7 separate regions of the Homo sapiens genome follow, and regions 2, 3, 4, 5, 6 and 7 are each linked to region 1. Evidence: promoter capture Hi-C in 16 types of primary human blood cells and fetal thymus (Javierre and others, 2016). All regions are on one chromosome and are shown on one strand. Each heading gives the region's core, a stretch centred on a gene start or on the middle of the fragment in contact. The rest is flanking DNA. Distances are from core to core; before and after follow the strand shown. Region 1 holds the start of CDK4 (cyclin dependent kinase 4). Region 2 overlaps SARNP (SAP domain containing ribonucleoprotein). Region 3 holds the start of SARNP (SAP domain containing ribonucleoprotein). Region 4 overlaps PYM1 (PYM1 exon junction complex associated factor). Region 5 holds the start of PMEL (premelanosome protein). Region 6 overlaps RAB5B (RAB5B, member RAS oncogene family). Region 7 overlaps LOC105369781 (a long non-coding RNA gene).

Region 1 (3,954 bases), core at 1,455-3,954:
GCGGGGCGGGGAGGGGGAGAGGAGAAGGGGCCGCGGCTGCGCATCCCCGCCCTGCCCCGCACGAGCAGGTGTCCCAGGGGCGGGGGCAAGTGTGGGATCCCGAGGAGGGTGGAGGAAGGGGAGTGGCCAAGGAAGGGGAGTGTGCACACAAGTTGACTAGGTGTGTGTCTGGGAGTGGGGGATGAGCGGGTGAGCATGGAAGGTGAGTGGTTAAATGACGCAGGTGTACCAGGGAGGGTGAGGCTTGTGCAAAATGGGAATGTGCAAAGAAAGAGCTGTGCAAGTGTCGGAGGTGTGAGGGAGGTACATGGGCAGGGGTGGGACTCAAGCAATATACACTTTACCCAAAGGGCTGAAAAGTGTGATCGATGGGGACTGGGAAAGAGAGGTGTGTAAGGAATGGAATCGGATTGTCTGAGAAACAGAAGCCTGTGATTGTAATGTGTGAAGGAGGTGAGGGAGGGAGCAGGGGAGGTAGGCGTGCTAAAGGGATGGGAGTGTCTTTCCTGGTACTCTCCTGCCCTCACCTCCACTACACTGAAGTGAACAATACACACACTTACCCCTTTCCTTTTATGGAGACTTCCCTCTGAGGCCAAGTTCTACCCCCATCACATTTTTTTCTTTCTTACACTTACATTCTCCCTCTCCTCCCCTTTGCAAAGCTGAGGGAAAAGGGATTCCAGGGGAGCTCATTGGGTCAAACATACTGGGAAAAAATTTAATTAGTGAAAGAGTAATTAACAGAAGAAGGGAGGGGACAGAGCCTGGGACAGACTGCCAAATTAAGGTTCCTCAATAGAAAGTGATGGAGAGACAGTAATGTTCCCATGAAGTATTCAAATGTTTTGGATGGACTAATGAATGAATCAGAAAAAGGGGCTGGGACCCAAGCAGACAGAGAGGACGTCTTCTGTTGCAAAGACAGTAAGCTGTGAAGGTCTTATGTGGAAGGTGAGGCTGAAGTGGGGAATGCTGGTGTGGGAAGGGAGTTTGAAAAACTCACAGACAATTATCTTAGCCTTCCAGAAGGCTTACAAAGCACCCACCCCTAGCAAGGTAGCCAATAAAACATTCACCTCTTGAGCCCCTTAGTCAGTTCAGTCCTTGAGGTTTTTCTTACTAGTGTTCCAGCTGCCCTTGCCAGGAGGGGCCCAGGGCTACAAGTATCAGGATGGAAAGAGGAGGCATCTGTATTAATATGTATTCTATTTTGCTCTAAGTCATGGTTTATATTCATCTTCTAGTTTGAACTCTTATATTCTCAGCCAGATGGTTAAGGAAAACAGAAGTTAGAGTGGAAGGAGTGGCAAATAGGGTAATAAAATGGCTTTAGATTTTAGACAAATTCTCACAAATGAGACACTAACCGCTTTCCTCCTTTACTCCCATACCCCCAAAGGGCTGGGAGATAAAGACCTTGGAGCCAATAAAACAAAGTAGGAGAAATCTACTTGTGTCTACCTAGGTGTCTGGGCAGAGGCCATTTGGGAACAAGTGTGTTCTGGACAGTGCTAAGTGCTAAGAAAGCGGCACTAGGGAAAAAGAGGGAAGCACAATAACTCCAAATGAGTAGTCACAAGGTTTGCAGAAGGGGGCATGTCATTTTCATTCATTGTGGTGGTCTGGAGGGTGCAGGGGGTGTGGTGGTAACTTTCTTGCACATGTGCAATCCTGTATCCGTCTTATATATGATGTGATAAATAATATCATATACATACATATATACATAGAAGCATATATGCACACATACAAATATCACATAATCATAGAACCTTCCTACTGGAAAAAAAAAAAAAACTTAAAAGGTCAAGTATTCCTGTCTCCTGCTCATCAATAACTTCTCTGCCAGATGGCCTCAGGTCTTTGCATTAACACTCCCAGGGAGGTTTGGAAGTTGGAAAAGTGAGAGGATTACCTTGTCACTGAGCCTGTTGGATTACTGTATTAATCTGCCTTCCGTCATCCTTTAATCGTAGTTTTGCCCTCAAATGGGCATTGTTTACTCCCTATTGTAGAAGACCCCATTGTTGGCTACATCTTTATAGATAGTCGTACCACTACTTTAAAGGGCCAGTGACAGACACCAAAAACAAAATAAAAACCCACATACACACTGGAAGCAAGCACTCAGTAAAATGTTGTAGAATTAATGAATGAAACAATGACACAAATGAGAGTATGTTTTCTCATGGTGGAGCGAAAAGGTGACAGCATCACCTCTGGTACCCCAACTCCCACCCCCTCCCCAATGCAGACAGGCTGAAAGACCGGTAGTGAGACTGGAGTTCAGCCTTCAGACCGGTAGTGAGACAATCCTTCAGCCGGGAGTTGGGCTCTGGGTGGCCTAGGTTGCCATGGCACCGCCTCGGGCTCCACCCTCTCTTGTCCCCCTCACCGCTCCCCCCCTGCAGCGGGGGTTGTGGCAGCCAGTCACGTGCCCGCCGCGTAGCCACACCTCTGCTCCTCAGAGCAATGTCAAGCGGTCACGTGTGATAGCAACAGATCACGTGGCTGCCATCGCCCCTCCGCCCCCTTACACTCTTCGCCCTCCTCCCAGTCGAAGCACCTCCTGTCCGCCCCTCAGCGCATGGGTGGCGGTCACGTGCCCAGAACGTCCGGCGTTCGCCCCGCCCTCCCAGTTTCCGCGCGCCTCTTTGGCAGCTGGTCACATGGTGAGGGTGGGGGTGAGGGGGCCTCTCTAGCTTGCGGCCTGTGTCTATGGTCGGGCCCTCTGCGTCCAGCTGCTCCGGACCGAGCTCGGGTGTATGGGGCCGTAGGAACCGGCTCCGGGGCCCCGATAACGGGCCGCCCCCACAGCACCCCGGGCTGGCGTGAGGTAAGTGCAGTCCCTTCCCAGGAATGAGAACCAGTGCCCGCCCCCCTCACAGCTTTCCACGCGTTCGTTTCGCGAGCTGGTTATGGAAGGGTCGCTCAAGGGCGGGAAGTGGGGCCTTTGTGGTCATGGGAAAGTATAATTTTAGGGACTGAGGTGTAGGATCTTCGATGCAAGGCATGTGTCATGTGTGATCTTTGTGCGGGGCGCGATTGTCCCAAAGGAAAAAGCGTTTTCTATTGCAGGGCCTCACGTGGCTGGAGGGGTTGGTATTGAGTCATTGTGTTATCTCTGGGGCCGGCCCCAAGGAAGACTGGGAGCGGGGGATGGGATGCTGGTGGTGTTCTTTGCGCTTTTTTTTTGGGAGTCCCTTTGTTGCTGCAGGCTCATACCATCCTAACTCTGTAAGCGACTTTTGGTGATAGGAGTCTGTGATTGTAGGGTCTCCCTTGATCTGAGAATGGCTACCTCTCGATATGAGCCAGTGGCTGAAATTGGTGTCGGTGCCTATGGGACAGTGTACAAGGCCCGTGATCCCCACAGTGGCCACTTTGTGGCCCTCAAGAGTGTGAGAGTCCCCAATGGAGGAGGAGGTGGAGGAGGCCTTCCCATCAGCACAGTTCGTGAGGTGGCTTTACTGAGGCGACTGGAGGCTTTTGAGCATCCCAATGTTGTCCGGTGAGAAGGTGGTGGAGGGTTGGGCGTGGGGAGTAAAGGGAAAAGACAGCCTATAGGTGGGGTGTGATGATCTGTAGAGAAGTGGGGACCCTGAGGAAATAATGAGAGGCCATGTTGGGTTAAAGGGGATTGAAAAGTGAGCATTTACTCTGGTCAGGCTGATGGACGTCTGTGCCACATCCCGAACTGACCGGGAGATCAAGGTAACCCTGGTGTTTGAGCATGTAGACCAGGACCTAAGGACATATCTGGACAAGGCACCCCCACCAGGCTTGCCAGCCGAAACGATCAAGGTGAGTGGGGTTGGTAGGCATTGAGAGGTGGATTGGGACCTTTGTAGTAGAACCTTCTGGGATTTCAGGTATGGTGCCTAGTTTCCAGTGCATCTGTACCTCCCCTTTGAAACTAGGATCTGATGCGCCAGTTTCTAAGAGGCCTAG
Region 2 (3,954 bases), core at 1,004-3,503, 2.0 Mb after region 1:
AAAATTTATTTGTTTCTTATCCACATATCTGAAAGTAGTTTTATACAGTATTTAAAATAATTTTGTACATGAAACAAAGTTTTGACTGTGACCCATTGCATGAGGTTAGGTGTGGGGTTTTCCACTTGTATCATATCAGCCTTCAGAAAGTTTTAGATTTAGGAGCATTTTAGGTTTTGAATTTTCAGATTGGTGATGCTTAACCTGTAGGATATAGTATACTATATCCTATATACTAATAGTATATAGTATATTATTATGAACTACTTATTTTATGCTCTTATGTTCCTGTGAAAGTCTTTTTGGGGTATATGCCCAAGAATGGTATTGCTAATTAATATTCATAAATATATACTTAATGTGACTAAGGACTCCCAAATTATTTTCCAGAATTGCTCTGTAGATCTGCAGTCTCATTACTAGTACATAAGGGTTCTTGTATCTTCACAAACCTAAACTTGGCACTGTCCTATCAAGTGGCCTAAGTTTTGCTAATTTGTTGGCTGTTTTATGTTCTCCATGAAAAAAGTTTAAACATTTCACAATTCTTTGGGTTTCTTCTTTGCCCATTTTTCTGTTGAGGTTCCCATAATTTGCCTGTTGGCTTGCAGGCATTTCTTTTATATTCTAATAACTATTGTTTTGTTGATTTTAGGCACAAATATCTTCTTTGGCTGTGCGGGGTGGTTCATGCCTGTAACTCAGCACTTTGGGAGGCTAAGGTGGTATGATCTCTTGAGGCCCGGAGTTTGAGACCAGTCTGGGCAGCATAGTGAGATCCCATCTCTAAGAAAAATAATAAAATTAGCTGGGTGTGGTGATGTGCACCTGTAGTCCTACCTACTTGGGAGGCTAAGGCAGGAGGATCCCTTGAGCCCAGGAGGGGGAGGCTGCAGGGAGCTGTGATTGTGCCATTGCACTTTATCTGGGCGACAGAGTAAGACTCTGTCTCAACAAAAACAAATGTCTTGTCATTTGTCTTTTAAGTTTCTTTGTGCTATCCTTAAGTAGAAGTACTTAGTTTTGAAAAATCTTCAATTTTTCACCTCTTACTTTTGGTTCTGGGTTGTTTTTCTTTTAAACAAATCTTTCCCCACCACTAAATCTCAAAGATACTTTTCCACATACTTTTTTTGTTTGTTATTCAAGACTGGGTCTTGCTCTGTCACCCAGGCTGGAGTGCAGTGACATGATCTCAGCTCACTGCAGCCTCTGCCTTCTGGGTTCAAGTAATGTTCCCACTTCAGCCTCCCCAGTAGCTAAGACTATAGGCGCACACCCCCACACCCAGCTAATTTTTTTATGTTTTTTGTAAAGACGGGGTTTCGCTGTGTTCCCCAAGCTGGTCGCTTGAACTCCTAGGTTCAAACGATCCACCTGCCTCTGCCTCCCAGATTGCTGGGATTACAGAGAGCCACGGTGCCTGGCCCAACATTACTTTTAAAATTAATTCTCTAGTTTGACTTCACATTTAGTTCTTCAGTCCAACTGGAGTTCACATTTGTAATTAATGTTAGGTAGAAATCTGGTTTTATCTTCTCCAGATGTAGCAGATTTTATGTGCATCAGTTTCTGCCTTCACTGTTGGATTTTTTGGGGGAAAGCAAAGTGATTATAATTTTAACCTTGGTAAGTGATCAAGATGGTTTTGTAGCAGGGCTTGACCTGAATATTTTAATATTCTTTAGCTGAAGAGGAGGCAAATGAAGAAGATGTACTGGGAGATGAAACAGAGGTGAGTTGGATAGAGTAAGGTTAGTCTCTGGTAATGTGCCACTGCTTTGGCCACATTGCTTTAACATCAGTCATTGGAGGACTTAGATGTAAATTTATTAGGGGAGCATAAGATGGGTATGAAGGTTCTGAGAGACTGGTTTATTTTGGAGTTCTGATGTTCTTCTTTTGATAGATATTTATTCTTTAGATTTATGTTAACCACCTTGTTTCATTTGGTTTTAGGAAGAAGAAACAAAGCCCATTGAGCTCCCTGTCAAAGAGGAAGAACCCCCTGAAAAAACTGTTGATGTGTAATTATCCCTTTTTTATAATCTGAGTACAGAGCAGGCAGCTCTTTTCTTAATGTATTTAATGTTTAACTTTGTTTACCTCTTACATGTTCCCATTGGCCTTTTCCTTTCTGATTAGGTCATTTTTTTGTTTTTTAGAAGGGACTACTTCAAAGTACTTGGTCCCAGTGAAGTAAAGCAAATTGTCTCTGAGTTATGTAATAGGTAATGAGGACCAGGTGACTTCAAGACCAGACATAGTTTAATTCTCCTAGCCTTTGTTGTTCTTTTGTAGGGTCACCATAATAGATTATTCTGTTACTCTATAGAGAATCTGTACAATTCTGTATGCAGTGTAAAACTGTGTAAACTCTGTTAACTTTTTTTTTTTTGAGACAGGATCTCACTCTGTTGCCCAGACTGGAGTGCAGTGGCGTGATCTTGGCTCACCGTAACTTCTGCTTCCCAGGCTCAAGCAATTCTCCTGCCTCAGCCTCCCGAGTAGCTGGGATTATAGGTGTGTGCCACTACTGCCCGACTGATTTTTGTATTTTTAGTAGAGACAGGGTTTTACCATGTTGGCCAGGCTGGTTTTGAACTCCTGACCTCAAATGATCCGTCTGCCTTGGCGTCCCAAAGTGCTGGGATTACAGGTGTGAGCCACCGTGCCCGGCCCATTCTGTTAACTGTTCATAAGAGTTTTGCACTTTTCTGGAAAAGTGTAAAACTGAGGCCAGGCACGGTGGCACACACTTGTAATCCCAGCACTTTGGGAGGCCGAGGTGGGTGGATTACGAGGTCAGGAGTTCAAGACCAGCCTGGCCAAGATGGTGAAACCCTGTCTCTTCTAAAAATACAAAAATTAGTTGGGCGTGGTGGAGGGCACCTGTAATTCCAGCTACTTGGGAGGCTGAGGCAGGAGAATTGCTTGAACCTGGGAGGTGGAGGTTGCAGTGAGCCGAGACTGTGGCACTGCACTCCAGCCTGGGAGCCACAGCTGTCTCGGGAAAAAAAAAAAAAAAAGTGTGACACTCTATATAAAGGAGTTTTGTAAGGGAGGAGGGTGTTGGGTAGAGGTTATGTTTCTGAAGTAGCACTCTGTTCTCTCTTGCTTTCTGATTTACAGTGGAGGATGGGAGGACAAAGTGCTAGAATGGAAAGTAGATCTTGATTTGTTTAAACTGTTCCACAAGGGTGATCCTAAACATCTTTAATTTGGGGCTTTTTCCACAAATGTCTGGCCATTTTGTACTATAGTACATTAAGAGCCGTTGAGTCCTAAACTTTGAACATTTTTGTTCCTCATAGTTGTGTTAGTGCATTTAATTATAAAAGGCAGTGTATTTACAAGTAAAAAGTCAGTACATAGTGGAGTATATCAATTAAGAATTAAGTACTCTTTGTATCCATTCTCAGATCTGACTTTACTGAGGTTTTTAGAACAGTACATACTTTTGGAAGATTTTATATATGGGGTCTGTACATGTGTATATGTATGTATGTGTATATATAGATACACGTATACACACACTGTGCACACTTGATTTTTTTTCACATCTGGAAATTTTTTATATCATCATTTTCTTATGTAAGTGTTAGTTATATGCTAGGCATTGTTCTTAAGAGTTATATGCTAGGCATTGTTCTGAATGTTTTACATGTACTGTCATTTTATCCTCAGTAGACCCTGTAAAGTCAGGATAATTATCCTAGGAAGTGGTCTCTTTTTGTTTAGCTTATTATGGGAAATTACAAGTATATACAAAAGTTCGACTAGTGTAATAGACTCTCATCTACCTATCACCCAGATTTACTAGTTATCAACTTAGAACCTTGTTCTTTCTAGCATTTAATAGTATTGCATTCTATGGATAAACAGTAATTTATTTCACCAGTCTTCTGTTGATGGACATTTAGATTATTCATTAAAAAAAAATGTAGTTCTGCA
Region 3 (3,954 bases), core at 930-3,429, 1.9 Mb after region 1:
CTGTTAATTGTTAATGACATGGCAAATGACGGCTCAAGCTATTTCAGTCTGTATGACTGTTACAGTCCTCTTTGCTTCCACTCCCTACAGTGTTTTTGAAGATTAATATCAGTTCTGCCTTTATTTACTTCTTTTGGCAGTGTAAAATCATTTGGTTTTATTTGGCACTTATCTTTTCTCAGTCCCTTCATTTCCTTACTACCAAGGAGGCAGCAAGGAATGCTTGATTACAGTATTGACTGTAATCTACATTTTACTGCTCTCTGTAGGCTTAGAACTAGTATACCATAATATCTTCAAAGGGTTTTAGATGAGAAGTCTGCTTTTTAACAGCTTCCCTATGGGCCTTTCTACCTGGCTCTTGGAGCTCTTTCTAACCCAGCATATCTCATTTCCCCCATAGACTCACAGCACAATAGGAGAGATGCTGAGGAACTTGCGGGAAGAGGTAAACTGGAGCCCATAGTCCATTTGCTCCCAGTGTGTCAGTAGCCGAGCCTTTCCTTGGTCAGGAGTCTCAAAGGGTGTCCCTTTCACCGTATGAAGGAAGACATACGTAGCCTGGGAACAGGGAAGGTGGCAGTGTGAGGGGCAGAAAGTAGTTTTTCAGTCAAAGAATTATGTTAAGATCCCAAAAGGAACACATAAATCCCCAAACAATTGGTGATTTTATTTTGCTTTTGGTTGGGAAACCCTGGGGTGGGTACAAGGGCGTGGTTTAGTGCTCACCAGGTTATGGATGACGTTGGTCAGGGTCCAGACAACAGGAATGCTGAAGAAGGGGATGCTGAGTAGAACCATATGCAGCAATCCTACCAAGATGATGTAGGCCAGCCAGATGCCTCGGCTATTCATCACTCGGGTGTTGGGGTTTACTTCGCTGTGTGCCACCCCCACATTCATCCTAGCCGTAATGGGGGATCAGGCAGGAGTCCAGCTCAGTTTTTTCTCAACCCCTCTTGAGCTATCTCCCAGTTGTCTCTCAGATAGCCCCAATCCCCTGAACTCTATTGGGAATGAAGAACTTACCCATCACGCAGAAAATAAAAACTGAAGACTTGGGGAAAACTTTAAAAGACAAGAAGAGTCCTCACTACATTTCAGAGACATAGTCATTATTGCTCTGATCTTTACACGTCAACTGTAACATGAAGGTGTATGTGTAGGCTTGGGGCACTCACTTCAGGGAGCAAGGGAAATAGGAGTATCTGACTTTGCTGAAGAAGTTAATAACCATGAAGAGGTCACGTACACCCAGAATTCCAGGCGAAAGTCATGGAATCATCAAAGAACCACTAAGAAGGGATGACAGAGTAAAGCTCACTCTGGTCCCCACTTTGTTCTCTGGGGCTTGTCCACCCTCTCTCTCACCTCCGTGGCATGTAAACAGTCTGCATCCCCATTACTTCTCTCAAGCGTGGGGCACGACAACAACTTGCCCACGGCTTCTGGACTGGGTTAGGAAGGGACCTGAGCTCAATACCTCGAAAGGTGGAGCCTTGGCTCTGACTCCAGGGGCAGCAGTGATTATCTGAACTCGGATCTTTAAAATTGTGGTAGCTCTAAAGCTGATGATGTCTGGTTAGGAAGCGGCTCTTGCCCGCCCCAGCCCCACCGCCAGTTCCTTAAGCCCGCCCCATGCCCCTCCCAGCTTCCTCCTCATGTTCATCGGTTTTTTCAGGGCTCCCTTCAGCGCTCCCCTCTCAGTATTTAGGTCACCACTCCCTCGGCGCCCCTTTCGCCTCCCACCATTTTTCCTCAGCAACCCTTACAGTCTTTGCAGCTCCTACCTGCCAGCTCAGATCCCCGTCCGGCTATGGGCGCGGCGCCGGCTACCACACCTGAAGTCTCCAGGAAGTAACGCCTCTCCTTCTGCCCCTTTCCTATTGGAGGAACAGAATCAGCGCTGCCACCACCCATTGGTTGGTGGTCTGTAATGCAGAAGCACAGTTGGTTGCCATTTCTGTCGTTCGCAAGATACAGTGCCCGCCCCTCTCCCAGTTCCACCTTTTGAAAGAGGTGGGGCAAGCTGCCTAGAGAAGTGAGAGCGACGTCAGCTATTGACCAATGGGAAGAGCTGATGGTATGGCGTGGGAGCAAGAGTGACAACGATTGGTCAGCCTTGCATCTCTACGCCTAAGGCGGGAGCTCCTGGAGGCGGAGGCCGCGGGTGGGGGCCTAGTGGAGTGAGGGGTAACAAGATGGCGACCGAGACGGTGGAGCTCCATAAGCTAAAGGTACCGTGAATCGGGGAAGGGCTGAGTTGGACTTTTCTAGGAACTGAATTCTACAGGGTAGCTTGCGCCTTCTCCTACGTCTTCTCCGTGCAGCCTTTTCCACTTCGTTTCTCGGCTCCCGCCGTAGCTCTTTTGTGCCACCCTTCCACACTACGCCTTCCCTAATTTCCCATTTCTCCTCACGGCTTTACTGCTATATTTATTTGTTATTTCTGCTTCCTTCATCATTGTATCGTCCGTCACCCTTCCCCACTGGGTTGTGTAAGTGCCTTCTACCTGTTATACTCTTCGTTGCTTTTCAGGGCTGCATTACGTCAGTTGGTCCCTCCTTTTTGCCCCATGTCGGAGCCAGGATCCGTTTTTCTTCCCTGGGATGATGTTTCCAGTCTGTCGTCCGAAGCTGAGATTTCCCTGTTAGCAAATGGTGGCATTTTTGTGTATTTCTGTCTAAATAGGTACCAGACACTCAGAAAATACTTCCACTCCCCTTTTCTAGGTGGGATTACGCCCCAAGCCGAATTTTGAAACAGGGAGAGGCCTCTCAGAAGATCGGTCTCGCCTTAGAAGCCTGGGGTTGAGGAGGTCTTGAGAATAGTAGAAGTACAGACACCTCAGATTTAAAAGTTTTCGAGTTCTGTCACGCGGCTCTCGGCCCGCCAGCCTTCCTCACACACCATCTCCAACCACCAGAGAGAACTCACACCTGCAATATTTGGGAAAAACAATTCCAAGGTTAAGATTATCTCTGTTCCATTTCATATCTCGGGTGGGCCCTGCATCTCCTGGTGTTACCATTGGCTGACACTGAATCACAGAAGCTATTTTAAATTGTCTTATGAGACTCTTGGTAGTTTTTTCACACTTAGATATATAAAAAAGTTAAAAAAATATATTAAAAAGAAGAACATTTTAAAAAGTATTTTCTTTTAGGGTAAATTAAGATATCTTGAGTAATTGTCTGTTTGTGGTTTCACAAGTAGTTTTCCCATTAGATGTTTTGGACAAACCAGGCTGATATAGCTGAAACTGAAAAGTGATCCTTTAAAGCTCGAAAAGTTTTTTTTTGTTTTTGTTGCTGTTAAGAAAGCTTAAGGGTAGTAAGGGTAGGGAGAGGACCCTTCTTTAGTCACTTATTAGTTGACCCCAATTAGTCTTTCTGTGAAACTGATGTTTTTCTTACTCTTGGATTCTAAACTCTGTTAGTGGGTTTTTGTGTTATTCTGGAGTTATTGTTAACTTGATGATACTGAAATGCATAGACTATATCAGCGGTCTCTTGATCTTTATTGTGATGAGTTAAAAAAAATTGAGCAATCATCTCCACTTTGTTTATATATACTGTACTTATAGAAATTGTATACTTCTGGACTGTTATAAAATATAACACAGAAAAGGAATTTTTGAATGAGATAAAAAGGAACTATATATAGAAGAGCTAATATTTTCTTCCTATTTGTCCTATTTTTGAAATCCCTGGAGTAAGTCACCAGCTGCCCGATGACTTACTTGCATTTATAGATTGTGTTGGTTTATGGAGTTCCTCCTTCCATCAAATCTGTATTTGTCAGGTCTATATAAAATTTGTATTTGATTGGATAAGTAACTTTTACGTAAAGTCCTCTGACCTGATTTCAGTGTTACAGTCTAAGAGAACATTAGGCACTCCTGACAGCCTAAAAAGGACTTGCTCTTTAATCACATTTGCTTGTCTTTGCTT
Region 4 (3,954 bases), core at 389-2,888, 1.8 Mb after region 1:
GGCTGGAGTACAGTGGTGTGATTGCAGTTTACTGCTGGCTTGACCTCCTGGGTTCAAGTGATCCTCCCAGCTTAGCCTCCCAAGTAGCTGGGATTACAGGTGTGCGCCACCATGCCCAGCTAATTTTTGTAGAGAAGAGGTTTCACCATGTTGCCCAGGCTGGTCTTGAACTCCTGGATGCAAGCGATCTGCCTGCCTCAGCCTCCCAAAGTGTTGGGATTAGAGGCATGAACCACCACGCCCAACCTCAGACTACTTTCTTTTTTTCTTTTTTTGAGACCGACTTTTGCTGTTGTTGCCCAGGCTGTGGAGTGCAATGGCCTGACCTCGGCTCACCGCAACATCCACCTCCCGGGTTCAAGTGATTCTTCTGCCTCAGCCTCCCGAGTAGCTGGGATTACAGACATGTGCCCCACACCTGGCTAATTTTTGTATTTTTAGTAGAGACGGGGCTTTCTCCATGTTGGTCAGGCTGGTCTTGAACTCCTGACCTCAGGTGATCCGCCCGCCTCTGCCTCCCAAAGTACTGGGATTACAGGCGTGAGTCACCGTGCCTGGCTGACTACTTTTAAATGTAGTATTATCACATGCTATGTTTTTGCCCATACCCTCTAGTGAAACTGGGCTGTATGGCTGATGTGGAACAGCAGTGCGATGGTGTGTAAGCTTTGGCATCAGACTTGAGTTCAGGTTACAGATATGTGCTACCTTTGGGATCTTGACCATGTCTTTTTTTTTTTTGAGCTGGAGTCTCACTCTGTCACCCAGGCTAGAGTGCACTGGTGTGGTTTCAGCTCACTGCAACCTCTGCCTCCTGACTTCAAGCAATTCTCCTGTCTCAGCCTCCCGAGTAGCTGGGATTACAAGCATGTGCCAGCACGTCTGGCTAATTTTTGTATTTTTAGTAGAGATGGGGCTTCGCCATGTTGGCCAGGCTGGTCTCGAACTCCTGACCTCAGGTGATCCGCCCGCCTTGGCCTCCCAAAGTGCTGGGATTACAGGCGTGAGCCACCGCACCAAGACTTGACCATGTGTTTAACCTCTTGAAGACTGTTTCCTTGGCTGTAAATGATGATATCTATCTATCGTTTAGATTTAACAGGATGATGTATACAAAGTTCCTCCTGTAATGTAGCTACTTATTAATAAATACTCTTTACTAATCATTCTTAAATACTGAGTTTTCCACTGCTAGGATTTTGCTTTTGTTGTTCCTCTTATCCCCTTTCCCTTTTCTCTGCCTGCAGAAATACTGGCTGCTGATTTGTTGTTATCATTAATTATTACTACTTTCTAGTCTTTAGTGTCAAATGAGGTTTTCCTGATTATCTCCTGTCATCTCTTAGGATACTTACGACACTCTTACTTTTGTCTTATGCTTTGCTTGCCTAATTTGCCCACTTCCTCCTTACTTAGTCTGTAAATTTTTTGAAAATTGGGACCATCTTACTCATCTTGATAACCCTATTGGCACTTACGGTACTTTTCTTCTAGGAGGCTTTTTTTTTTTTTTTTTAAAGATAAACTCTTGCTCTGTCGCCCAGGCTGGAGTGCAATGGCATGATCTGCAACCTCTGCCTCCCAGGATCAAGTGATTCTCCTGTCTCAGCCTCCCGAGTAGCTGGGATTACAGGTGTGTGCCACCAAGCCCAGCTAGGAGGCTTTTAATGTTTATTTTGTTTAATTTGTAGTCTGGCCTCTTTACCACCGTGCTTTTCTGAGGCTGTATTTGTGGAGATAACCAGGGATTTCCAAAATGCCAAAGCCAGAACCTTTTTCTCAGTTCTCCTTTCCTTGATCTCTCTGCAGTATTTAATACTGTTAATCACCTACCTTTACTTTTTTTTTTTTTTTTTTTTTTTAGGCAGAGTCTTGGACTGTTGCCCAGGCTGGAGTGCAGTGGCACGATCTTGGCTTACTGCAACCTCTGCCTCCCGCCTTCAAGGGATTCTCTTGCCTCAGCCTCCTGAGTAGCTGGGACTGCAGGCATGTGCCTCCATGCCCGGCTAATTTTTTCTATTTTTAGTGGAGATGGGGTTTCATCGTGTTAGCCAGGATGGTCTCCATCTCGTGACCTCGTGATCCACCCACCTCGGCCTCCCAAAGTGCTGGGATTACAGGTGTGAGCCACCATGCCCGGCCATCACCTACCTACCTTTATTTAAAACTGTTGGTCTCCATGGCTTAGCATGTCCTGGTCTTCCTTTCCTATGAATCATTTCCTGTTGTTGCTGTCACCTTTTCTTCCTTGAGGGAAATGATTATGATCATTATTTCAGGGTCATTCCTCCAGCTCTCATCTTCTCTTTGTTATATTTTCTCTGTGTTGGAAACCACATCCAGGTCTTATTTTGGCCCTGAGATCATCCGCAGGCTGAGACCTGTGACTTAGATCTCTTTTCTTATTTGAAAAAGGTCTCATACCTTTAACAACCATGTCCCCTACCTCTTTGGAGTTCCTCCATGCCTTGCTATGTTGTCTTTTCACTGTCTACCTGCAACCCCTGGAAACAAGGACCCTTTCAGTGTAAGAGTTTTTATTGCTGACAGACTTAAGGAAATAGATTGAGAATTAAAAAACGGCAGATGTGAGAAAATGACAAAGCTTAAAAAGATTCTTACAGTAGCAGTCCCCAATCTCTAGTTTTTGACTCTCTGCAAGATATTATCTGAAAGTCCTGATATTTTGCCCTTGGTTTTTATTTCTAGGGGTGGGAACCGCCAAACCTCTCCCTTCTTTTTGACTTCACCCTTGGATACCATCAAGGCCAGAGGATGGAACCAAGATAACATAAAATAGGTGCTCCTTTGTGATAATGGGCTATTTGTATCTCTGAGGGCTTCCACACAGGATGGCCATTCAAGAAGCTTCTGCTCTGCCTTTCATTACAGTCTATCTTTAGTCCTCCTAAACCTTCAGCTATAATCTCTATGCAATCAACTTAAATATATGTTTGTAGTATTGTCCCTTTCTCCCAAATTCCATGTAAAACACTTGCCTGAATTGAATTGTTTCCACAAAGTTGTTTTCCCCTGTGGACTTTGTTTATATCAGTAGTTTTTATTTTCCCAATTTTCCAAATTCAAGAGTGATAATTATAAATAGTTGTGTTCTTGTTTGTTATCTTTCTCACTAGAATGTATACTCTAAGAAGGCAAGAACCTTGCTTGCTTTATTCATTGTTGTATTCCTAGCTTCTGTTACAGTGTCTGGCACAAGAGTAAGTGCTCAATAAAAATTTAAAATCCACGTGTGAATAAATGTGATTACCATGTGCCCTACCGTATATTGAGAAAAATAAGAATACATGTGAAAAGCACGAGATTAAATCCACTGTGTCACTGTTTTGATTATTTCCTCTCTAATTCACATCTTGGTAAGTCTTTGGATCCTGTTGATTTAATCTTCACAATGAATTTCTCCTTCATTTTCCTTTCATTACCTGTAGAAACCATCGAAGTCAAGTCTTTTCACATTGCAGCTGTTGTTTTCATTTTCTCTACCTTTAGTTTATGGTACACATTTTTCAGTTTAATCTTAAATCATTGCTTTGAACAGATCACCTGTACTCCCTTATTGGCCATCAGTATTCTACAGCTTAAGGCTTCAGTCCAAACTCAGTGGAGGTTGGAGACCTTTCATAGTCTCACTAATTTACCCTGAGTCTCTTTTCACGTTACATATGCTTTTTGCCCAGAACATTCTGGATTCTTGCTCTTCCCTGATGAGATACTCACATTTATTCATTAATTCAGTCCATATTTACTGTCTTCTGTGGGCCAGGCTCTTTGCTACAAAGTTCAAAGACAGTTTCTGCTTTCCAACAAGCAAATAATTATGTTAAGCATTAGAGCATGATAAAAGCTAAAACAGGTGCTGCGAGTGCACAGAAAGCAAGTTTTAACCTGGCTTGGCGTAAGGAAGTCAGGAAGGCTGCCTTGAGTTGATACTTG
Region 5 (3,954 bases), core at 545-3,044, 1.8 Mb after region 1:
GAGATGGGAATATGGTTACAAATATTCCTTTCCCCCCCACCTAGTCATTTCTTTCCCCCAAGGAGACACCACCCAGCACCCCCTAGGAAAGTGAGAGAAGAGAAAGGGTGATGGTAAGAGCTAATTCTTGGGTAGTCAGGGTGTGGTTTTTGGATATATTAAGGCCATTATCTCCTCTTTTCCCAGGGGTAGGTAAGTAAAGCCGCCTGGTGAAGGTGAAGCAGGGAGACTGTAATGGAGGGGAAAAAATGCAGGAGTAGCCCCCAGCCTCCCCAGAGGGGCCAGTGAGGTTCAACTGCCATTCTTTGGAAAGAGGAGAGAATTCTAAGGTGAGGGTGGGGCAGTGAAGAGGGCTCTTCATTCAGAAAGGCGATTCTCGCCGGTTCCCACATAACTCCACTCCATGGAGAGTCTTGGACCTCATCTCAGAGACCTCCTTTCTCTCCCCGAGTCTGTAGTCGCACATTTGGGGGCACGATCCGGCTCAGTTTGGGAAGAAAGTTTTCCATGGATTCCACACCACCCTATACTCTCCCCAGGGAGTATAAGTATACTCTTCACCTTCTACTGGCCCCCAACCCACCTCTCCACTTCTAAAGAAGTCCCTCCCTGCTCTCTTCCGGTCCCTGGACGGCTACCCGCCCGTGGGGGGTTGGGGGGGACAATCAAGGAGGTCCCCAGTTAGGAGTCCCGGGTACAGAGGCCACTCACGTGTCCAGGCGGATTTTCTTAAGCGCCACCACCTCTCCCGTCAACTTGTTTCTGGCTTTGTACACAACTCCGTACGTGCCCTCTCCGATCTTTTCCACCTTTTGGAAGTTCTCCATGAAGCGCCAGCGAGTCGGGTCAGCCCGGCCCTGGAGCGGGGGCCTGGGAACCCTGCAGAAGGCGGACCCTGGCTCTCGGGGGCCGAGGAGGGGGAAACAGGGCCCAGTACCGTGGCCCCGGGTCGGGATGGAACGCAGTATACCTCTCGCTCTTGTCAATTTGGCCAACTTGAAACAATGTTGCCGCCTCCCACCGAGTTCCCGACCGCCACCAGAGGCCCCGCCCCTGCTTCCCGCGTTTCCCTGGCTCCGCCCCCAGGCCTTTCTATTGGTCAACGTCAGAGCCGGGGGGCGAGCCCAGCGCTCCTCCCCGCAAATGATCCCGCCCCAGGCAAGTTTGGTTCTTGGGGGCTAGACAAGTTTCTTCCCCGGTGGGGCGGCTGAACACTCTTCCCAAGTACCTGCTTTGGGTCCAAGTTTCCTACCTATGTCTCTAGTCTGTAGGGATTTCTTGATTTCTAACTCACTATTTTCACCAATCCTGGGGAAAATATGTATCGACCTAAGGTTAAATTCCACCTGGCCCAGGAGCCTCCTTTGGAAACCAGGAAGCCGGGAATCTCGTTGCAAAGGAATCCTGGGCCTCAGAGGAGTCGTTGCCTCTGCCTCATAGCATACCCCGACACTGTCTCTGTTTTGGGATGCAGGGTTCTGTTTCTGTCTTTTTGAGAAGTTCCTGGTTTAATTCACTCTCCCATGATAAACTGTTGTGTCTGGTATGTGTTACGCAGCTGCCTTTCAGTTAGCTCTTGCCCGGGAGTGCATCAAGATGAGAGTGACCCAGTGAAACCAGAAACTGTCATTGAGTAGCAGGATGGGAAAGCAATGTCTAGGGACCAGGATCCCTTTGTCAGTTTTTCCTTTTTCCTCTCCTCCGGCCCCTCCCAGGCCTTCTCTGAGGGAGAAGAGGAAGGGCTATGCAAATGAGCACCCTTTTCTTATATAGGGGCCTATCCCAGTCCCCCCAGTGCCTTTGGTTGCTGGAGGGAAGAACACAATGGATCTGGTGCTAAAAAGATGCCTTCTTCATTTGGCTGTGATAGGTGCTTTGCTGGCTGTGGGGGCTACAAAAGGTATGTGTGGATATGTGGACATGAGCAGGTGTGAACTTGGGGATGAATTCCCCCTGCTCTGGTTTCTGTCCTCCTAATGGGAGATAGCGGCAATATTTCAGGCGTCTCCCACTCATTTGATTTAGTGAGGATGTGGGCACCTGGGCTCCCTCCCTACATGGAGATTTGGGATTTTGCCTGAAAATAATCTCATATGCTTGGAGGGGCAGAAGGATAGAAGGTCTCTGTGGCACTGATTCTGAGGCTTCCTTGGCAGTGAGCTGGAGCACGGGCTCCAAAGGGGTGAAATGTGCAGGAGACTCTTTTAGGAAACGTCTCTTGGGGTAGGAGATTTAAAGTGGGGAGTCAGAGAATGTGGTATTGGGTAAGAACACTAAGGAGATACAATCCTCTCCTCTTGGGATGGGTACGGGTGAACACAGCCCAGACCTTTTGTTCTGGGGCTGGAGAGATAGGCAGAGGGGTCTCAGCTGAGCATCACATGAAAGGGCTCTGGGGGATTGGGCCTCGTGACAGGAGCAAGGGGCGGGGGTGGGGTGGTGAGAGGGTCTGGAATGTCCCGTGCTGCTCTGAGGAGAGTTGGAAGTGGAGAAAGAATGGGGTATCTTATGACTTCTCTTGTTCTAGTGGTGGGATGCTCAATAGATGATTCCAGATCCTCCCCCAGCAGAATCAACTAGGGTTACAGCACACATTAGAAAGGGAATGAGGCCGGGCGCCGTGGCTCACGCCTGTAATCCCAGCACTTTGGGAGGCTGAAGCAGGTGGATCACGAGGTCAGGAGTTCGAGACCAGCCTGGCCAATATGGTGAAACCCCCGTCTCTACTAAAAGTACAAAAATTAGCTGGGCATGGTGGCACATGCCTGTAGTCCCAGCTACTCAGAAGGCTGAGGCTGGAGAATCACTTGAACCCAGAAGGCAGAGGTTGCAGTGAGCCAAGATCACACCAATGCACTCCAGCCTGGGTGACAGAGCGAGTCTCCGTCTCAAAAAAAAAAAAAAAAAGAAAGGGGATGAGGCCCGGCACAGTAACTCATGCCTGTAATCCTAGCACTTTGAGAGGCTGAGACGGGTGGATCACTTGAGGTCAGACCAGCCTGGCCAATATGGTGAAACTCCATCTCTACTAAAAATACAAAAATTAGCTGGGCATGGTGGTACGCACCTGTAATCCCAACTACTTGGGAGGCCGAGGCATGAGAATCGCTTGAACCTGGGAGGCAGAGGTTGCAGTGAGCCGAGATCACACCATTGCATTCCAGCCTGGGCAACAGCAAGACTCTGTCTCAAAAAAATAAAAAAAGAAAAGAAAAGAAAAGAGATAAGGAGGCCGGGTGTAGTGGCTCACACCTGTAATCCCAGCACTTTGGGAGGCCGTGGTCATAGGATTGCTTGAGCCCAGGAGTTCAAGACCAGCCTGAGCAACATAGTGAGACCTTGTCTCTACGAAACGTAAAAAAATTAGCCAGGCCTAGGCCAGGCTTGGTGGCTCACGCCTGTAATCCCAGCACTTTGCGAGACCAAGGCAGGTGGATCAGCTGAAGTTGGGAGTTTGAGACCAGCCTGACCAACATAGAGAAACCCAGTCTCTACTAAAAATACAAAATTAGCTGGGCGTGGTGGTGCATGCCTGTAATCCCAGCCACTCAGGAGGCTGAGGCAGGAGAATCGCTTGAACCCGGGAGGCGGAGGTTGTAGTAAGCTGAGATCGTGCCATTGTACTCCAGCCTTCCAGCCTGGGCAACAAGAGCGAAACTCTGTCTCAAAAAAAAAAAAAAAAAAAATTAGCCAGGCTTGGTGGTGAGCACCTGTGGTCCTAGCCACTTGGGAGGCTAATGAGGAAGATGGCTTCAGCCTAGGAGTTTGAGGCTGCAGTGAGTGATGAACGTGCCACTGCACGCAGGGTGAGAGAGCAAAACCCTGTATCAAAAGGAAAGGAAAGGGGAAAGGGAAAGGAAAGGGAAGGAAGTTTCTGCAGGAAAGGGAAAAATGGGGTGAGGGTAGTTTTTGCTGTGCTGAACTATATACAGAAAGGAGAGGAGAGGGGAGGGA
Region 6 (3,954 bases), core at 679-3,178, 1.8 Mb after region 1:
ACAGTGGCTCACGCCTGTAATCCCAGCACTTTGGGAGGCAAAGGCAGGCAGATCAGGAGGTCAGGAGTTTGAGACAAGCCTGGCAAACATGGTGAAACCCCGTCTCTACTAAAAATACAAAAATTAGCTGGGCGTGGTGGCGCGTGCCTGTAGTCCCAGCTACTTGGGAGGTTGAGGCAGGTGAACTGCTTGAACTTGTGAGGTGGAGGTTGCAGTGAGCTGAGATTGCACCACTGTACTCCAGCCTGGCGACAGAGCAACAGCGAGACTCAGTCTAAAAAAAAAAAAAAAAAATTAGCCGGGTGTGGTTGGTGGCCGGCATTTGTAATCCTACTCGGGAGGCTGAGGCAGAACTGCTTAAACCCGGGAGGCGGAGGTTGCAGTGAGCCGAGATCGTGCCACCACACTCCAGCCTGGGTAACAGAGCAAGACTCCACCTGGGGTGGGTAGGGGGGAGATCGGGGGCAGGGAAGAAGCCACAATATGAAAGTGGTACAGAGAAAGAAAAAGAGAAAAAACAGGCCTGGCAGAGCGGCCCATGCCTGTAATCCCAGGGGTTTGGGAGATAAAAGGGGAAGCCTTGCTTGAGGTGAGGAGTTTGAGACCAGCCTAGGCAACATAGCGAGACTGAGTCTCTAGAAAACATTTAAAAAAATTAGCTGGGCATGGTGGTATGTGCCTGTAATCCCAGCTACTCCAGAGGCTGTGGTGGGAGAATCACTGGAGCCCAGGAGTTGAAGGTTGTAGTGAGCTGATTACACCACTGCACTCCAGCCTGGGCGACAGAACAAGACGCTATCTCTGGAAAAAAAAAAAAAAAAAAAAGGAGACATAACTAAAGGGTAAAGAGGAAGTTAGCAAAAGAATGAGAGGTGAGAACTCAAGGTCCCAAAGTAGACTAGATTAATACAGAGGAACATGACAATTACTTTGATTCTACTGGGTATTCTGTAGTCCCCTTGGTCAGTCAGTCTTAAAAATTCAGATATACATGTACCATTTTATGATTAAGTTTTCAATGGCCTATGACGAAAGGATCAAAATAAAGATGATACAGCAAATTTTTCATAAAGCTAAATTTATTCAATTTAAATGAGTATCTTTAATTATAACATTTTAAAATTTATTTTCCATTTTTAGAGAGAGTCTCACTCTGGTGTTTGAGAGGTCAGGAGTTTGAGACCAGCCTGGCCAACATATAGTGAAACCCCGTCTCTACTAAAAAATACAAAAATTAGCTGGGTGTAGCGCCACATGCCTGTAGTCCCAGCTACTTGGGAAGCTGAGGCAGGAGAATCGCTTGAACCCAGAGGGCGGAGGTTGCAGTGAGCTGAGATTATGCCACTGTACTCCAGCCTGGGCAACAGAGCAAGACTCCGTCTCTCAAAATAAAAAATAAATAAAAGAGAAGACAGGTGACACCATAATAAAAAAAAAAGGACAGATGATAAGCTGATCAAGTTTCCTTCAGGTGACATATATATGCTATACTCTCAAGAAACAATAGAAAAAGTTACTGGTTTTTTCAACTTACTCCCTTACATTTTTATGTATTTCAAAGCATGTGATCCAAGGGGTAGAATATTAAGCCTCAATGTTACTACTCTACAATAAAGGAAAATGTGGGAGTTAGAATGGACTGAATTCTCATGGCTAAACATATCACTTGAGCTCTGGGGGAGTGTAAAGACAGGAAACAATTGCAGACACGCTTGAGTTGCAAAGTCTCTGTCACTAACTCTCAGAGATGGGAAGTCAAGCCAGAGCCCAGATGTGGTCAGCAAGCTTTCTTGCTACTAAGCAACCTTGGATTCTCAGAGATCAGTAACTACTGACTTAGAAAAGACTACCTCGTACCCTAATATGTAGCCTTAAGAGTATGTTCTGGCTGCACATCATGGTTCACGCCTGTAATACCAGCATTTTGGGAGGCCAAGGCAGGAGGATCACTTGAGCCCAGGAGTTTGAGACCAGCCTGGGCAACATAGTGAGATCCCACCTCTGAAAAAGAAAGAATATGTCCTGCCTTCCTCCCTGTTCACAGCAATTGTTGAGCCACCTCTAAGCTTTGATCTTTAATCTTATCATGTTTATAAGGGTATCATTTAAAAAATATAATAGCTAGACTCTCAAAAATTCTGTGGTACAGAAATGAAATAATACATATAAGATTCAATTATTTATTTTCTATTCTCATTTTTTCCCACAAAAATACTAATTTTTTTTTTTTTTTTTGGTAAACCAGTCAAGTGGTATGATGATTATTACCTTCAAACCCGAGACAAAAAAAAGGGAGATGGGGCAGGTTTCTCTTCCTTTCAACCTTTTTAGCTCAGAAGAGAAGAAATCAGATTTAACTTCCCTTAGAAGTGCAGCTCTGCCGGGTGCAGTGACTCATGCCTGAAATCCCAGCACTTTGGGAGGCTGAGGTGGGCGGATCACCTAAGGTCAGGAATTCAACACCAGTCTGGCGAACATGGTGAAACCCCGTCTCTATTAAAAACACAAAAATTAGCCAGGTGTGGTGGCTGACACCTGTAATCTCAGCTACTTGGGAGGCTGAAGCAGGAGAATTGCTTGAACCTGGGAGGCAGAGGCTGCAGTGGGTCGAGACTTTGCCACTGCACTCCAGCCTGGGTGACAGAGCAAGACTCCATCAAAAAAAAAAAAAAAGAAGTACGGCTCTACAAGAATGACTTATAAAATGACCCATTAACTAGGGAGGATTGAGGCCTGACCATGGGTTAGCCCACTAGATGCAGGAGACCCATGGAGGATGTTCTTTAATGTGGGCAACTCTCCCAAGCAGTGCAGCAAAGTAGGCATAACAGTAAAAGTGTCTTAGCAGTCCCAGCTAGAGTAAGACTCCATTCCTCAAGCCCCCTTCCACTTGTTAGCTTTGAGTCCCTAAACCAAATACATATGAAGTCTCCAGAAGTCTATCACCTATCAACAGAGACAGAGTTCTCGGTATATATAGCCACTGGAGTCCAACCCAGTACCAGTTGTCAGCCTTAAGGTCAGTCAGGCAGATCAGAGCCAGTCTAGAGGTCATTTAGTCCAGTCTCTATATTTTATAGGTGAGGAAACCGAGACACATACAATTAGTCAATTTGGGCTAGGCGTGGTGGCTTACACCTGTAATCCTAGCACTTTGGGAGGGCGAGATGGGCAGATCACCTGAGGTCAGGAGTTTGAGACCAGCCTGGCCAACGTGGTGAAAACCTGTCTCTACTAAAAATACAAAAATTAGCTGGGTGTGGTGGTGCGTGCCTGTAATCCCAGCTACTCAGGAGGCTGAGGCACGAGAATTGCTTGAACCTGGGAGGCAGAGGTAGCAGTGAGCCGAGATCACACGACTGCACTCCAGCCTGGACAACAGAGCGATTCCGTCTCAAAAATAAATAAATAGCCCCATCCCTTCCCCGGCTCCCCCGGTGTCCGCCATGGCCAAAGCCTACGACCACCTCTTCAAGTTGCTGCTGATCGGGGACTCGGGGGTGGGCAAGACTTGTCTGATCATTCGCTTTGCAGAGGACAACTTCAACAACACTTACATCTCCACCATCGGAATTGATTTCAAGATCCGCACTGTGGATATAGAGGGGAAGAAGATCAAACTACAAGTCTGGGACACAGCTGGCCAAGAGCGGTTCAAGACAATAACTACTGCCTACTACCGTGGAGCCATGGGCATTATCCTAGCATACGACATCACGGATGAGAAATCTTTCGAGAATATTCAGAACTGGATGAAAAGCATCATGGAGAATGCCTCAGCTGGGGTGGAGCACCTCTTGCTAGGGAACAAATGTGACATGGAGGCCAAGAGGAAGGTGCAGAAGGAGCAGGCCGATAAGTTGGCTCGAGAGCATGGAATCCGATTTTTCGAAACTAGTGCTAAATCCAGTATGAATGTGGATGAGGCTTTTAGTTCCCTGGCCCGGGACATCT
Region 7 (3,954 bases), core at 882-3,381, 1.7 Mb after region 1:
CCGTCACTCAGTGATGGCGGGTAGGCACATATGTACTGTAAATTCAGCTGTGAGCTGAATACAAAGCAACTAGAAACAATCAGTGTTCCAATTCAAAAGGAATATCTCTGTGAGGAGGGAGGAAACGCTGGTCATTGTAATCTCTGGAGACACAAATTTTCTTCCCTGTTCTTATTTATTTATTATATTTACTAGAGATGAGATCTCACTATGTTGTCTGGGCTGGAGTGCAGTGGCTGTTCATGGGCACAATCACAGCACACTACAGCCTCAAACTCTTGGCCTCAAGCAATCCTCCTTCCTCAGCCTAATGAGTAGTTGGGACTACAGGTGCATGTGCCACTGTGCCTAGCTCTTCCCCATTTGTTTGAATCCACTTGGCATAAACAAGAGTCCTCCATGGCCCTGGCTTTCTCCTATCAACATTACAACACATTTGAACAGGAATGGGCATCCTTTCTAGACAGAAGATTTCCCACCAGGCTCCCTGACAGGCAGCAGTGAGGGCCAATCCCAGCAGTTTGGGAGGCCAAGGCAAGAGGACTGCTTGAGGCCAGGAGTTCTAGGCCAGCCTGGGCAACACACTGAGACACTAAAAAAAAAAAAAAGTAATTTAGGCCAGGTGTGGTGGCTCACGCCTGTAATCCCAGCACTTTGGGAGGCCAAGGTGGGTGGATCACCTGAGGTCAGGAGTTCGAGACCAGCCTGACCAAATGGAGAAACCCCATCTCTACGAAGAATACAAAATTAGCCAGGGGTGGTGGTTCATGCCTGTAATCCCAGCTACTCAGGAGGCTGAGGCAGGAGAATCGCTTGAACCCAGGAGGCGGAGGTTGCAGTGAGCCGAGATCGGGCCATTGCACTCCAGACTGGGCAACAAGAACAAAACTCCGTCTCAAAAAAAAAAAAAAAAAAAGTCATTTAACACATGCTTAATGTGGCCTAGGGGGTAAAAGGTCATGAGAAGAATATTGTTGGGAAAGATGGTGAAGGTAGAGAGAATGGCAAGGATCCATACCATGTTTTTGTTATTATTCCCAAACTATAACAGGCAGAAGTAGAAAAATTTTCTCCACTTTCCCTTAGTACCTGGGTTCTGCGGTGGAGAGCAGTAGTTATTAACAAGACAGAACTTCCCATGTGCCTTGGGTATGAGCCATTCAGGTGCTACAAGTAGAGCAAACCCACAGCATCATCCTCTACTGTCTATGCCTTCCTGAACTGAGTGAAATCTGAGCAAAAATATGTTGAAATCACATAGCTGGCTCTGCTCTCTATCAAAGCTTTGCATAATTGAGGAGGGAGAAGACGCAAAGGGGCCAGGGAAAGGTATGGAATTAGCCACTGTCTGCAAGCCCCTTTCCAGGAAAAAGACCTAGACATCAAGCAATTTGCAGCTCTGAAATTATCTTTAGGGTCAACCTAGTGCTCTCTGAAGGAAACCCACCAACCTTAGCTCAGCTCATGTGTTTGTCTTTACAGTGGAAAGGTCTGACTCATTTTTCACCAGGCTGTAGATGGTGACCTTCTGTCTACATATAATACAGTTGAAGACAGCTCAGCTTCATTATCCAAGTGCTTGGGGAGCAGTGCAGAGGGGATAAATTCCCAGGTCATCCTAGGAATGGCCAGTCTCTAAAATAAAAAGGGGTAAGAGCTGAAAACACAACACCTGGGCAGGGGGAAAATATCACCTCATTGTCTCCTTTTAGATCTCAGATGGATGCATCTTTTCTCTTGTTCTTTGCGCTTCTCTGTCCTCCCCATGTAGACTGCAGAAGAGAGAGAAGGCTAAGGTTTATGAGTGGGAGAAGAAACGATCCTATCCCTCCCATGTCTCATTTCAGGACATAAGGAACTAAGGAAAAGGGCCAAACTAAACACTTTAAATCACTAGATATGATACATAGGAGATGATACTTTTTGGGGTTTTTGGGTGTACCCCCAAGTATAGCTCTCTGTTTATAGAAAGGCCTCACAAAATCACTGCTGTTCAGTGGTATGTTTGGCAGGGGTGGAGAAAGTAGAGCAGGGAAATTCAATTTGAGTTTTATAATAATCAGTTTTAAAGCCAAAGATGCCCAAAACAGGGTTAGCACTCTCAAGTGAAGTTTGAAATTACAGGGAAGTCTCAGTGAACTATTCTGACTAGGGTACAGTAGCAAAAAAAATGTAGAAGAGACAGGAACAATTGCCTTTGATTGCAATTGTGCCCAAAAGTCCCTAATACATGCTGATCAAAAAAGTTCACTGTTGTTTGGGCCAGAAAGATGTTTTCAGGCTTCTCTGCTAATAGTCTTGCTCTGATAATCCAATTTGGTAAGACTCTCTTCTTCATGTGGAGGGTCTAGGGCAGGGGTACTCCAGGAACTGAGAAATCCTGGAGCTGAAATGGAGTTGAGAGATTATCTACAATTTCCTAGTTTTTAACAGAAGAAACTAAGCCCAGAGTCATCAATCTCATTAACAACAGAATTAGGACATGTAGAGTCCAAGTTACCATTAGAAGATTCTTTCCACTGGAACACTATATTAAATCTTGCCCCAGTTGGAAGATTTGGGCCACCCTGCTTGCCTTCTTTCTTGGGTTATTAAATGAATGGTTTTTGGGTCTGCGTCTTGCTGACCTAAATCCTTGAACTGGAAACACAGGCTTATGGATGGGAGGATAAATAATCCTCTTCCTCCTATGTCTCTTTTCAGAGATAATGGACCTGAGGAAAACACCAAACTAGATGGTCATTAAGTCTCTAAAGTAGAAACGGCCTCTTAGCTTGAGGACTACCCCAGCATAGGTATTGCATCAGAGCCTACAATGTGGATCCTCCCCGCAGCTGGACCAGGTCATTCATATCAGCACTACCCTTTCTTAGATGCCTTTGTCTGATAAACTTTGAACCTATCTCTCTGTTTCCAGAACAGAGTCCATAACTCTTCTAAGAAGAGGAAGCAAATCAAAGCCTGGAATTCAAAGCTTTCTTCAGCAGAGTCAACAGACCAATAAAGAAAGGGAGTCCCTCTGCCTGTGGCATTGTCCACACTCACAGGGTCCCACACTCTTATTTGTTCCTACAGAGTAAAACGAGGCTAGAAATACCTATCTTTCTTTTTCTTTGGTGTGTGTGTGTGTGGCGAGAGAGAGAGAGAGACAGAGAGAGAGATGGCCAGTTGGGGAAAAAAAATAATTCCTTTGTGGATACTACTGTGTGTGGGGGGGCAGGGGGTACGGTGAAAGGTGGGATAAGTTTCTCCCATGCTGGGAAGTTCAAGCTGCAGATTTCAAACTAAGAGGACATAAAGAGACTTTCAGTTGCATTTTCACTGGAAAAAAGTCAGGACTTATTTCTGAGCCAAGTCCTGAAATATGCCTTACCCTTAACCTACTCAGAGGAAGGGGATTGCCCAGAAGCTACAATTCAACTAACTAACTGCACTCAGTGGGCAACAAAGACATTATATTTTGTGTTTGAGACATCAACTTCTATTGACTAGGGCAAGGTATAATTCTGAAGCTGCCAAAATGAGGGCAGCTCTCACCATTCTGAAGCCCACCCCAGAAGCTCCAGTGAAACTTCTCTTGCTTCCCAATGGTAAAGCTATTTTCTTCTTTTAAGATTTTATTTTTATCTCAGGAGCTACTCATCTGACTGTTCTCATGACCCAAGGGTCTGTCTGGATTCTCTGGCTTTAGGCTGTTAGTAGGGAAAGCTGAAGTCCTCCTGCAAACCATAAAGCAAGATTCACGGACCTACTGGCAGGTCCATGGGGAGGTGAGGGATTACCATACACCCCAACCAAACGAAACACTATGCTTTCAAAGATTGTCTGATTTGGCCTTTTATCTGGCCTTGTCCTCAGAATCTGAGTTATCGTTAAGTGGAAATATTCTAGGTAGTCAGATAACATTTTCATGCTTCCTTAAGGATATGAACATGTATCTTCACCCAGGCAAAG

What was found. The method cuts DNA at HindIII sites, captures the fragments that hold promoters and counts their contacts. A CHiCAGO score of 5 or more calls a contact.
Region 2: a fragment that was not itself captured here is called in contact with the fragment with the promoter of CDK4 in region 1 in 1 of 17 cell types (monocytes); the score reaches 7.3 in monocytes.
Region 3: a contact is called between the fragment with the promoter of SARNP here and the fragment with the promoter of CDK4 in region 1, in 2 of 17 cell types (activated CD4 T cells and total CD4 T cells). The highest score is 6.2, in activated CD4 T cells.
Region 4: a fragment that was not itself captured here is called in contact with the fragment with the promoter of CDK4 in region 1 in 1 of 17 cell types (monocytes); the score reaches 7.5 in monocytes.
Region 5: a contact is called between the fragment with the promoter of PMEL here and the fragment with the promoter of CDK4 in region 1, in 1 of 17 cell types (monocytes). The highest score is 5.2, in monocytes.
Region 6: a contact is called between a fragment that was not itself captured here and the fragment with the promoter of CDK4 in region 1, in 1 of 17 cell types (monocytes). The highest score is 5.9, in monocytes.
Region 7: a contact is called between a fragment that was not itself captured here and the fragment with the promoter of CDK4 in region 1, in 1 of 17 cell types (monocytes). The highest score is 5.6, in monocytes.

The regions. Positions count from the first base shown.
Region 1 is chr12:57,751,060-57,755,013 of GRCh38, reverse strand. CDK4 (cyclin dependent kinase 4) reads left to right here and starts at 2,704. Exons shown (of 8, transcript NM_000075.4): 1 at 2,704-2,839; 2 at 3,278-3,514; 3 at 3,672-3,807; 4 at 3,924-3,954. The coding sequence starts at 3,297. RefSeq lists silencers at 1-148, 2,255-2,374, 2,605-2,684, 3,415-3,554 and an enhancer at 2,345-3,078. The HindIII fragment of the contact is 8,675 bases long and covers 1-3,954 here.
Region 2 is chr12:55,798,635-55,802,588 of GRCh38, reverse strand. SARNP (SAP domain containing ribonucleoprotein) reads left to right here. Exons shown (of 11, transcript NM_033082.4): 3 at 1,689-1,735; 4 at 1,960-2,027. Among named protein-coding and RNA genes, the nearest start is that of SARNP, 17 kb to the left of the region's middle. RefSeq lists an enhancer at 3,869-3,954. The HindIII fragment of the contact is 8,110 bases long and covers 1-3,954 here.
Region 3 is chr12:55,815,949-55,819,902 of GRCh38, reverse strand. SARNP (SAP domain containing ribonucleoprotein) reads left to right here and starts at 2,179. Exons shown (of 11, transcript NM_033082.4): 1 at 2,179-2,237. The coding sequence starts at 2,202. It overlaps ORMDL2 (ORMDL sphingolipid biosynthesis regulator 2), which reads right to left and starts at 1,862. Exons shown (of 4, transcript NM_014182.5): 1 at 1,791-1,862; 2 at 730-904; 3 at 410-561. The coding sequence starts at 903. The HindIII fragment of the contact is 4,326 bases long and covers 1-3,326 here.
Region 4 is chr12:55,913,122-55,917,075 of GRCh38, reverse strand. All of the region lies in intron 1 of PYM1 (PYM1 exon junction complex associated factor), which reads left to right. It overlaps LOC124902941 (a long non-coding RNA gene), which reads left to right. Exons shown (of 2, transcript XR_007063325.1): 2 at 2,710-3,250. Among named protein-coding and RNA genes, the nearest start is that of PYM1, 13 kb to the left of the region's middle. The HindIII fragment of the contact is 1,939 bases long and covers 669-2,607 here.
Region 5 is chr12:55,963,882-55,967,835 of GRCh38, reverse strand. It overlaps PMEL (premelanosome protein), which reads left to right and starts at 1,794. Exons shown (of 11, transcript NM_001384361.1): 1 at 1,794-1,900. The coding sequence starts at 1,825. It overlaps CDK2 (cyclin dependent kinase 2), which reads right to left and starts at 1,006. Exons shown (of 7, transcript NM_001798.5): 1 at 712-1,006. The coding sequence starts at 827. RefSeq lists an enhancer at 1,236-1,315. The HindIII fragment of the contact is 16,386 bases long and covers 1-3,954 here.
Region 6 is chr12:55,980,526-55,984,479 of GRCh38, reverse strand. All of the region lies in intron 1 of RAB5B (RAB5B, member RAS oncogene family), which reads right to left. It also overlaps the pseudogene LOC100131294. Among named protein-coding and RNA genes, the nearest start is that of RAB5B, 8.4 kb to the right of the region's middle. The HindIII fragment of the contact is 281 bases long and covers 1,788-2,068 here.
Region 7 is chr12:56,009,235-56,013,188 of GRCh38, reverse strand. LOC105369781 (a long non-coding RNA gene) reads left to right here. Exons shown (of 3, transcript NR_135023.1): 2 at 1,511-1,650; 3 at 2,918-3,097. It also overlaps a transcript of IKZF4 not described here. Among named protein-coding and RNA genes, the nearest start is that of IKZF4, 9.8 kb to the left of the region's middle. The HindIII fragment of the contact is 1,691 bases long and covers 1,286-2,976 here.